Linked DNA regions of Homo sapiens: region 2 is linked to region 1. Evidence: promoter capture Hi-C in 16 types of primary human blood cells and fetal thymus (Javierre and others, 2016). All regions are on one chromosome and are shown on one strand. The core of a region is centred on a gene start or on the middle of the fragment in contact, and the rest is flanking DNA. Distances in the headings are between cores, read along the strand shown.

Evidence for each region. The method cuts DNA at HindIII sites, captures the fragments that hold promoters and counts their contacts. A CHiCAGO score of 5 or more calls a contact.
Region 2: a contact is called between the fragment with the promoter of HNRNPLL here and the fragment with the promoter of HEATR5B in region 1, in 4 of 17 cell types (monocytes, neutrophils, naive B cells and 1 more). The highest score is 9.8, in monocytes.

What each region holds. Positions count from the first base shown.
Region 1 is chr2:37,082,163-37,087,360 of GRCh38, forward strand. It overlaps HEATR5B (HEAT repeat containing 5B), which reads right to left and starts at 2,210. Exons shown (of 36, transcript NM_019024.3): 1 at 2,107-2,210; 2 at 1,127-1,274. The coding sequence starts at 1,252. It overlaps GPATCH11 (G-patch domain containing 11), which reads left to right and starts at 2,356. Exons shown (of 9, transcript NM_174931.4): 1 at 2,356-2,408. RefSeq lists enhancers at 1,718-1,817, 2,288-2,447. The HindIII fragment of the contact is 3,413 bases long and covers 1,330-4,742 here.
Region 2 is chr2:38,600,426-38,605,623 of GRCh38, forward strand. HNRNPLL (heterogeneous nuclear ribonucleoprotein L like) reads right to left here and starts at 2,503. Exons shown (of 13, transcript NM_138394.4): 1 at 2,013-2,503. The coding sequence starts at 2,201. RefSeq lists silencers at 2,223-2,322, 2,343-2,392, 2,613-2,682. The HindIII fragment of the contact is 8,602 bases long and covers 1-5,198 here.

The DNA.
Region 1 (5,198 bases), core at 960-3,459:
CGGCTCAAGCGATTCTCCTGCCTCAGCCTCCCCAGTAGCTGGGATTACAGGCGCCCACGACCACGCCTGGCTAATTTTCGTACTTTTAGCAGTGTTTAGTAGAAACGGGGTTTCACCATGTTGGCCAGGCTAGTCTGGAACTCCTGACCTCAGGTGATCCACCCACCTCAGCTTCCCAACGTGCTGGGATTACAGGCGTGAACCACCATGCCGGGCCATATCTACTTTTAAAGACAGAATATAAAATACACAGACAATAAAAAGTAAGTTGAATCAATGTTGGGAACTGGCTCCAAAACTGGCCATAAATAAAATCTCTGCAGCACTGTGACATGTTCATGATGGCCATAACGAAACCCGAATGAGGGCAAGGAACACCTGGCCTGAAAACCGCTTAAAGGCGCTCTTAAACCACAAACAATACCATGAGCGATCTGCGCCTTAAGGGCATGTTCCTGCTGCACAGAACTAGCCAGACCCACCCCTTTGTTTCAGCATACCCCTTCGTTTCCCATAAGGGATACTTTTAGCTAATCGAATATCTGTAGAAACAATGTTAATGGCTGGCTTGCTGTTAATAGACACTTGAGTAAATCTCTGTTCCGGGGTCTCAGCTCTGAAGCCTGTGAGACCCCTGATTTCCCACTTTACACCTCTATATTTCTGTGTGTGTCTTTAATTCCTCTAGCGCCGCTAGGTTAGGGTCTCCCCAAACGAGCTGGTCTCGGCAAATCAAGGCTATGCAGGAAGAAAAAACAGATTAAAAAAAAAAAAGAGCCTATTATTGACTCCTCAAAGAGATAAGTGAAGACACTGGGATTGTTAGGCAGCATAGAGAGATCACTTGCAACGGGTGACGATGATAAATTTAAAGTGACACCAGTCATATAGCCATGTTTTTCTCCAGTTACAATGAGCTGCCCAGGTACAAACATAAAGAAGATAGGCAATGAGCTGGATTTAAACGAGGTTTGAGTTTTGCCACTAAATTTCCCATTCGTGTAATACTCTCAAGTTCCATAAGTGACCCATAAACCTTCCAAAACATAACATGTGTTTTCTTAAGAATCATGACCACATAATCTCTTCACGTTAATGCAACTGGGAAAAAAGAGCAATACCATACCTTGTTGGCAGCAACCAAGACTTTATCAAGAAATCGCAACCATTCAAAGATGAAAACTGGTCTTTTTGCTTCGGTGATTTGAGCCAAAGCTTCTTCATTTAGCAATAAACTGTGGGCTAACTCCATTACGGAAGTTTGAAATTCACACCTTAAATTTAACAGAGTAAAAAATACTTGTAAGTATTTTTTAATGTTAAAAGTCAAGCTTAATGGAATATACTCACTAAGAAAAGTAGGACTACTCATTTCATTTGGGGAAAAACTCAACTTCTTTGAGGCAAAACCTGAGAACATACTTTTAAATGACAAAAATACAAACAAAAACAGAAGAAAACTACTTGGTAAGGAAGAGTGACTCATGGAGTGAAAAGAAAATTAAAAGAAATTATTGCCAAAAAAGGCATTATTCCAGAAGAAATATGTCCAGCAACACATATGTCATTTACCCGTTCTATAAATGAAAAAACTGAAGCACTAAGATCAAACACCCCAGCCGGGCTTGACAACCATCCTCCTCTTTTTCTCGTCCAGGGTTCGGTACATAGCACCTTTACCCTCCCGCGCTGCACCTGGCCAGAGGGACTGAGGTCAAAACACCCAGCACAGACATCCCGAACTGCAGGTCTCCAAGACTCTTCCTACGCGGATGGGTGGGGCGGCCAGGCCCGGCGGCCGAAGCGTCAGTGACAACACCAGGCGGTCCGGAATGCACCCGAGAAGCCTCGCGCGCTCGGGGTCTGGCTTCACCTGGCTACTCCAAGAACCGCAAGCGGCGGACCCGGGGAAACACCAAGAGGCCGCCGCAAGCCTCCGTGGGGTTCCGCAGGCTGTCAATAGCACGAGGCGGCAGCTCGGAACTAAGCACGGAGCCAGAAAAGGGAAAATGTTCATTACGAACTCAAATGTCTTCCCCACCCGTCTGAAAATGTACGTCGGACAGGAGTCCGTGCGTGTCAACATGCATGCTTCGGCGACCTCACCTCGTAGTCTGGAAGGGAAGATCAGCTGAGCTCCGGGGGTAGAAGCAGCCACCAAGAGACCCGGATGCCCCACCTCCCGCACTCCTACCTGCAGGAAACAAGGGAAGAGCGCTTGCGCGGAGGGCTGGTCTTGCGCAAGCGCAGTCACCACGTCCTCCTATCCCCACCCGCCGCGAATTTCCAATAGAGTCTGCACTAGGAAACTGGTGGGAGCCGAGGTCCGGAAGTCCGACGCTGGTCGGTGGGCGCATGCGCAGCGCGCGCTCTACGGCGCTGAACCGGGGCGAGCAGAGAGCTGTCAGGTAAGAGAGCTGTCAGGTAAGGGTCTGGGGACAACCGGTAGAATGATAAAAGGCAGAGTGCGCTGGCCATGACTACCGTATCACACCGTCAGCCACTTTTCCATCCGTGGGTGGTTGCGTCTGTGGGACGCTTGCAGCCAGGAGGAACGCGTGAGGGAAGGGATCAGCGGTTCCTGAGCGTAGTATTGAGAGTGGGACGTTTCTTGTCACATTTATACTGTAGGTCCATTTCTCCACTTGTATATGTAATGGGACTCTCAATATGTCTGTTTCCCGACTACGCCCCCTAAAAAAACAAAAACAAACCTACTCCTACAGTCTTCCCACTCTCAAAAAACGTTAACTCCGTTCTTCCATGTATTCAGGCCAAAAACTTAGCGTTATCTTGACATCGTTCTTTACGTACTACCTACAACATCAGCAAATCCTGTAAGCTCTACCTTCAAGTGTACCCCAAATGCGACCACTTGCATTGCTATCACTCTGGTACGAGCCTCCATCATCTCTGCCAGGGTATCGCCTTGTGAAGTTTATGCTTATCTTTGATGGAAATGGATAATGCTAAAGTATATTTTACCAATAGAAAGAGAGCTTTAAAAGCAACCTGTAACCCCATTCAGATGTGCCTGGCACTTTAAAGTTAAGTAGGTCTCTTAAAAACAATGTAATCCTATTTGCAAGGCACTATGACCCGGATTCTTTGTGGTTTTGAAATAGTCATTTAGCCATACTGAACCTTAATTTCTCCAACAGGAAAAACTCTTCCTACCTTGTAGAGTTGTTAGTGGTGGTTAAATGTGATAAAAATGTGTGATATACTGGGTAAGTGTTAAACCATTATGTGTAAAAATGCTGTTATTACCAATGAAGAATCTGAGGTTTAGAGGAAGCGGGTGAATTACCATAAATGCTGTATATAATAGTGCACGTTTTTAACTTATAATAAAAATAGGTAAACTAAACTGTAATGTTTAAAGATGCACACGTGGATGACAAAACTATCGAGAAAATGAAGGAAATGATTGCCATAAAAAACAGAATAGTGACTATTCTTAGAACCAAAAGAGAGTTGCAACTGGATAGGGGACAAAGAGGGCTCCCAGGTGCCTGATAAGGTTCTACTTCCTGATAACTTTTGCTACATAACAAATTATCCCCAAATGTAGCAGCTTAAGATAACTGTAATCATTTGTTATCTCACAGTTTCTATGGGTCAGGAATTTGTTAGCAGCTTAGCTTAGTTTAGCATGGACTTTCTTAAGAAGTTGCAGTGAAGATGCCAGCCCAGGCTGAGTCATTTGAAGGCCTGACTGGAGCAAGAGAATCCATTTCCAAGGTAGCTCACTCCTGTGGCTCATGAGTTTGTGCTGGCTTTTAATAGGAGGACTCAGTTCCAATCGTGTGACCTTCTCCATAGAGCTTCTTGAGTATCCTTATTATGTGACCACTGACTTCCTTCAAGTGAGTCATCTAACTTCAAAGTTAGAATGACCTAAGAGCTGCAGTTATGACCAAAAAATCAACTCCATCATCTCCACAAAATCCTGTTGGTTACACAGGTTAATCCTGTTCACTGTGGAAGGAGACTACACTAAGGATGTAGAAAACCACACAGCAAGAATGACTGGGAGTCATTTTGGAGGGTACCACATGGTTACAAGAATGTTTGACTCACAGAAATGTATTAAGCTGTACATTTGTTTTATGTGTTTTCTGTACGTATTTAAAAAGTGTTTAAAAATGACTTGTTGACATAGGAAAAAGTTATAAAATTACAAATATTAAAGACCCTTTTTATCCTCATTGTTGCTAAACAATTATTAAGCATTTGTGTTTGGGATGCAGTGGTAGGTAGGGAGGATATAGGGGACTTGTCTTTGTGTTTAACACAAGATATACATTATCTAGTTGAGAAGATATACATTAAAAATATAAAAAACCAGGCCAGGTGTGGTGGCTCACGCCTGTAATCCCAGCACTTTGGGAGACCGAGTGAGGCAGGTGGATCACTTGAGGCCAGGAGTTTGAGACCAGCCTGGCCAACATGGCAAAACCCTGTCTCTATTAAAAACACAAAAATTAGCTGGGTGTGGTGGTGGATGCCTGTAATCCCAGCTACTCGGGAGGCTGAGGCATGAGAATTGCTTGAACTCGGCAGGTGTAGGTTGCAGTCAGCTGAGATCACACCACTGCACTCCAGCCTGGGTGATAGAACGAGATTCTGTCTCAAAAAACAAAAAAGAAAACCATTAAAAATTAGTATAGTAATCCTTTTTTCATCCAGTGTAATTGTCTAGACACTTGGTTGCAGTTGACAGAAACCCTACTTCAGCAAGCTTAAGTAATGCAGAAATGTATTAGTCTATGTAATGGGGTAGAATGCTAAGTCGCAGCTTCAAAGAATCCGCAGCCTTGGAAACTAGGCTCATTTTCTCTATCTGGCTTCATTCTTCAGACAAGATCCCTTCATGGGGCCAAGAAGATGGCCATCCACAGCCCAGCTTCACATTCTCCCAGTTCAGAAACACCCATAAAAGACCTTCTTTCCCCCACAACCCATATATTCATATAATGTAAGGAAAAAGATGGTTATTTCTCTGGCTGGGTCATCTCGTCCCCTGGTGCTGGACATAGAGTACTATAATTGACCATCTTTGTGCCCAAGGAAATATGGGATACTGACATTGCCACCCTCCACTAAAACCACATGAAGGGCAGAGGGTTGGATTCCCAAAGGAAAAGATGGTAGGCAGGAAAAAACAGTACATATGCACCACAACAAGTGAATAC
Region 2 (5,198 bases), core at 1,253-3,752, 1.5 Mb after region 1:
CACACAAATTGTATGCTAAGACCAGGTGCGGTGGCTCACGGCTGTAATCCCAGCACTTTGGGAGGCCAACTCAGGTGGATCTCTTGAGCCCAGGAGTTAAGAGACTAGCTTTGGCAATATGGTGAAACCCCTTCTCTACAAAACACAGAAAAAAAAAATTGGCCCGGCGTGGTGATGCAGGCTTCCAGTCCCAGCAACCCGGGAGGCTGAGGTAGGAGGATCGCTTGAGACAGGGAGATCAAGGCTGCAGTGAGCCGTGATCACGAGCTGCTGCACTCCAGAGCTGCTGCACTCCAGCCCCGGGCCATAGAGTGAGATCCTCTCAAAAAAAAAAAAAAATTGTATGCTAAGCCTAGACTCTTGACCACCCCCAAGCCCTACTCAGTGCCATTTCCACCGCTCCACACATTTCGCTTTGGATACATTAATTATATGTTATTTTCTTCCCAACATCCAAAATAATACTATTGATTTAATGCTTTATCTGTTTTCAAAAACAAATTTTTATAATCTGATTTAAGTATCTTTCCAAAATGCCTGAAGACATTTCATGATGCTGCACAAAAACCCAAGCAAGATTTCTAGCAACGAGGTACACTGATCGAATACATCGAAATATCAGTTATAATATTCCTGTTTCCAATTTCCACAACAGAGTTGGCTTTGAACTGAAACTTCCTAAGAAAAAACCATTTCCTTTATTCACACTTCCAAGTTACATTTTGAATATTTCAAATAGCTCGGCACAAAAATCTAAAGTAATAGCTAACACCGTAACAAGACTGAGAGAAAAAGTTCCTTTTTTAAATGTGTTGCAAAGTTTGCTCTCACATCCTGGTAACTGGAAACTGCAACGCTGGGTGACTGACCAGCCTTTTTTTTTATTATTTAAAAATTCAAACGGCTATAAAGGGCTTCTAATGTGCGTCTTATTTTTAAAAGGTAAGGTAAAAACCCTTTTAACCTAATAGTAGGATATATGTGTACAGTTTCGTAATTCTGTTAAAGTTTGCAGAATTAATCACAATTCATGTGTTAAATGTTTAAATAACATCTAAGTCATTAAAACCGCTTAAGTGCACCAAAAAAGGGCAATAACGTTTGCTCCGCTTTGTTTCCTTAAAGTCTCCATCCAACTGAAGCTAACTACTTGCTGTGGACAAAATGATCACATTCCTTCTGCCTCCCCCTAACATTTCTGGTAAGAGAAAGACCTGGCTCTAGGAATGTGTGTTTAATGCAACCCTGAGCTCACTTCATCCTTTCATGGGGCAAATGTGGAATAAATTACCAATGAAAAACTTTAGTAATTTTAAGATTTGTTTTACTTGAAGGTAGGGGTGTACCAACAGCTGCCAACACTTCTGTTGAAGTGTTGTAACCGAAGAGGTAAAAAGTGTACTGAGTAATCCACAAAATTGGGTAGAGCAAAGGATGCACGCCATGCTTATAAAGAGTTTAATTTTAAAATTTTTTAAATTAAACCTTCAAGGGAACTAGCATGTGAACGCCAAGGCATAATCTGTTATTTAATTACGGGTCTCCATAGGACCGAGGCGGAGAGAGCTCCCGGTAGAACCGACGCAACCATCCCGGGATGGTGACCAACGCGCGGCTGCTGCGGGCAGAGGGACTGAAGAGAACCGGTGGTCCCGACGCTGGCCCCGAGCCCGAGGAGTTAAACTAACAAAGAGCTCCCCGAGCCGCGAAACCCCCCAGAGCGGAAGCGACGCCTCCCCGCCGCCGCCGCCGCGCCGCGACCCTCCCCAAGTTCAGGGCCCGGCAGTGGACTCGCTGCGGGGCCTGCGGCCAGGACGGCGCCGGGTTCGCAGTCGGGATGCGGGAAACAGGTAGAGGCCAGAATACGAGCCCCAAAGAGAAGAGTGGGCGCTTCCCCAAACGGGTCGGCGCAGCGGAAAAGGCTAACTGAAGCAAGCGGGAGGCCCCGCACCGAGGCCCTGCTTCCCGGGGAGCAGCCAGGCACAGCGGACAGGGGGGCCGCGCTTTGTTACCGGCTGAGAGAAGCTCCGGCCGCCGCCGCCGCCATCGCCCCCGCCCCGGGGCGTCGCTTCCCGGCGGTTCTCGCCTTCCTCGGCCGAGTAGTCGATCTCCCCCTCCTCGGTCTTGAGACGCTTGGCCTGGCTCTCGTACTCCCGGTCCTCCTCGTACGTCTCCCTGGGGGAGGAAGAGGAGGAGGACATGGCGGCGGCCGGAGGGACCGGCTGGCAGGCGGGTGGGGGTGGCGGTGGGGCGCGCGCCTCGGATGCCGCCGGCCAGTCCTCGCCGCCGGCAGCGCCTCTTCTGCGAGGGTCTCCGCGGCCCGGCCGTCCGCGGGGACTGCGCGGCCAGGAGACTGGCGGCTGAGAAGCGCGGACGGACTGAGGGGGGCGCCCCGGGAGGAAGCTCTGGAGCGGCCGCTCCTCTCAATTACCGAGCCAACATTCAGCCTCTCCCTCCTCCTCCTCCGTCTCCGCTCCCTGCCCGGAGGAGCGAATCTAAGGATGGGGACGCAACCGTGGCTTCCGGTCTTCCCTCCTCCCCTAAGCCGCTCCCAGCCGCGCAGGCCGAGCCTCCGCCCCCGCCTTCGCGGCCGTCGCGCAGGATCGAATCCAGCCGCAGCCTGCGGGAAGCGCCCCCCCCGGCCCGGGTTCTGCTCCCTATTGGCAGGGGCGGGAAAGTCGACCGGGCTTCCCATTGGCTGTGAGGGCCGTTCGTCAAAAGCCGCCCGCTGCTCGACCTCACTTCTCTCCCCGCGCCTTCTGAACTCGCCGCGGTCCTGGGAGGCCCGGCGCGCAAGGCGCGCCGCCTGGGAGTAGTTGCGACCCGCAACCGTTGGCGCTATGCGGCTCCTACCCGAGGCCAGGCGTGGAGTGAACACGGACGAGCGACGAGAAGTGCGGAGAGGCTAGGGCTGCGGGTGTTAACCGCCCTGCCGCTAATTTAAATGCTTTTTATCACCTCTTAAAAAGAGAATGAGGAAAAAAACCTCTAAAATCCCTGCAGTCATACCCCCCGAAAAGCCCTAAAATTGCAGGCGATGAAGGGAGAAAACGGCTTGGAGCCATGAGAATGGTCTTTCCACTGTTTTGTGTGCAAAATCTGGTAGAAGTGGGCGGACCCTCCCGCCCCTAGCTGGGTGTTGGAGAACAGCTGTCAGCATTGACTGAAGGCTGCGAGGCGCGCGTCGGCAGGAGGCGCTGCACGCGGGCGCTCGTCGGTCTGATCGGTTATAACTCGTTTGTAACCTGGGCCCTTTACTGACTTGCCTGTCCCTGTAAGTCCCTGCTCCAGTTAAATATGTTTTAATCCTTCCATATAAAATCTCATCCTCCATCCCAATTCTTTCTCTTCTGGACAATGTATTTACTTCACTTGATCATTTATTGTCGAAAGATACAAAAGCCTTTCAAAGTTCTGTGATCACAGCTTGCTTCCTCTGTGGTGTCCTGAGGGCTTTTCCAAGATTTTAGTTGCTGCTCTCTTTTTGCAACAGGGCCCCTTATAACTCCCTCTTAAGATGTTCTGTTTTAAAAACTCTGTGAGCGCCTGAAGACAGGAACTGTGTGCAATTTTCATTTTCGCAAGCCCAGTTCCTGTGCGATCTCCAGCACAATTTAGGTGCTCAACAATGCTGAATGAGTAGTCCTTGGGAAATAAAGGTCCAGTGTATCTTTCAGGACAGAAACTGGCAAATCAAGGCAACCTAACTGCCCTCTGTCAGGTGCCTCTTGGAGGACTGCCTGAGATCAAGAGCCTCTTGTGTTTCTGTTGTCCTTGTCCCTCGGATGCTTTCCTAGATGTGGCTCTTCCTTTCCTAAGAGTGTAGATTGCTTCCTCCTCCAGCCTAGTTCTCTCCAAAGTTATTTCCTCCTCCAAAAAAGCTATTTTTATTTATTGCTGAGAGTGCTTTAACATAACACTTTTGTACTTTGTAAATTACACCGGCTGTCATTTTGGAATCTAATTGCAAGATTTTCCACACTATGCAGCTATAATCAAATGTGTGTGCGGCTGCAGGTATACATTGACAAAACAGAACTAAAAAAATTATAAATTTATTTTTTAAATTAAAATGGAAGTCGACAGAAGAAATAGCAAAAGAGTGGCAGAGCTGGCTGCGGATGAGAAAATGTCATTGGCAAAAAGCTCTGCAATGGTTTGGGAAAGTAAAATAGCAACAAGGGAAACAATGATACAATTCTGCTTAAAATATGTCCTATGGATTCATATGTCCCCTAACATATTCAGAATGCAGACATTACCTGGCCTTCAGAAAGCTGAAGATACCAAGGGTCAAAAAAAAGGTCTAACAAACCTACTTCACGTGTTATCTTTAGCATCCATTGTCCTTTTTATAGCAGTCTCAGTATCAAAGATCAGGAAAGGATGAGTGAATTAATAAACTTGATACAAAGGAAACTTCTTTGATGAGGTGAGATGGGCCATTCTCAAGATATTTTTAGTTTGCTCAAATTAAAAGAGAAGAGCTGAGAGCTTAAAACAATTATTTTTTAGGAGAAAGAAAACAATAGAATATTATGTGAAATAATTGAGTGTGATGAGAAGCACTAAATATCTTTTTGTTAAGTATGAGCAACTACCTGTTAATTTTGTTTTATGTACATTTTCATATGCTAGGTGAATTTAGTTTGGTAAATTCTATTCACTCACAACTGGATTTACTAGGCCTTATACAAACTTTCCAAATATTTCTTGTGAAGATGCAAATATTTTAAATTCTCAAAGCCCTGCATTCAACCTATGGATTATACCACATTACAATGCAACTGTCACACCAATGGGTAAGGAAATCCAGCCTTGCCAAACCTAGGGCTGCTGTGCTCAGCGTTCACAAACAGCAGGTGGAATTCAATATGTACCAGTATTAAACTTTGTTCTTTTTGTAAGTAGCCCAGTTGAGTAAAAAAAAAAATATTGAGGGAGTAAAACTTAGAAAGCATTTTTAAAGGACACCAATCAGTTCGTTAACCATGGGTGAAATGCGAGCTTGTTGCAGATGAGTTGTTCAGACAGTGACAGTAGGTCCTTTGATAAGGAAAATACTAGCTAGCTCATCACCAGGGCATGAGGAGCTAAAGAGAGAGGACATAAATTATACTCTACATTATTTCACTTAGGTGAGACAAAGAAATTACACACTGCCCAGTAGCCAGAAATACCTAAGAAAAGCAGAAACA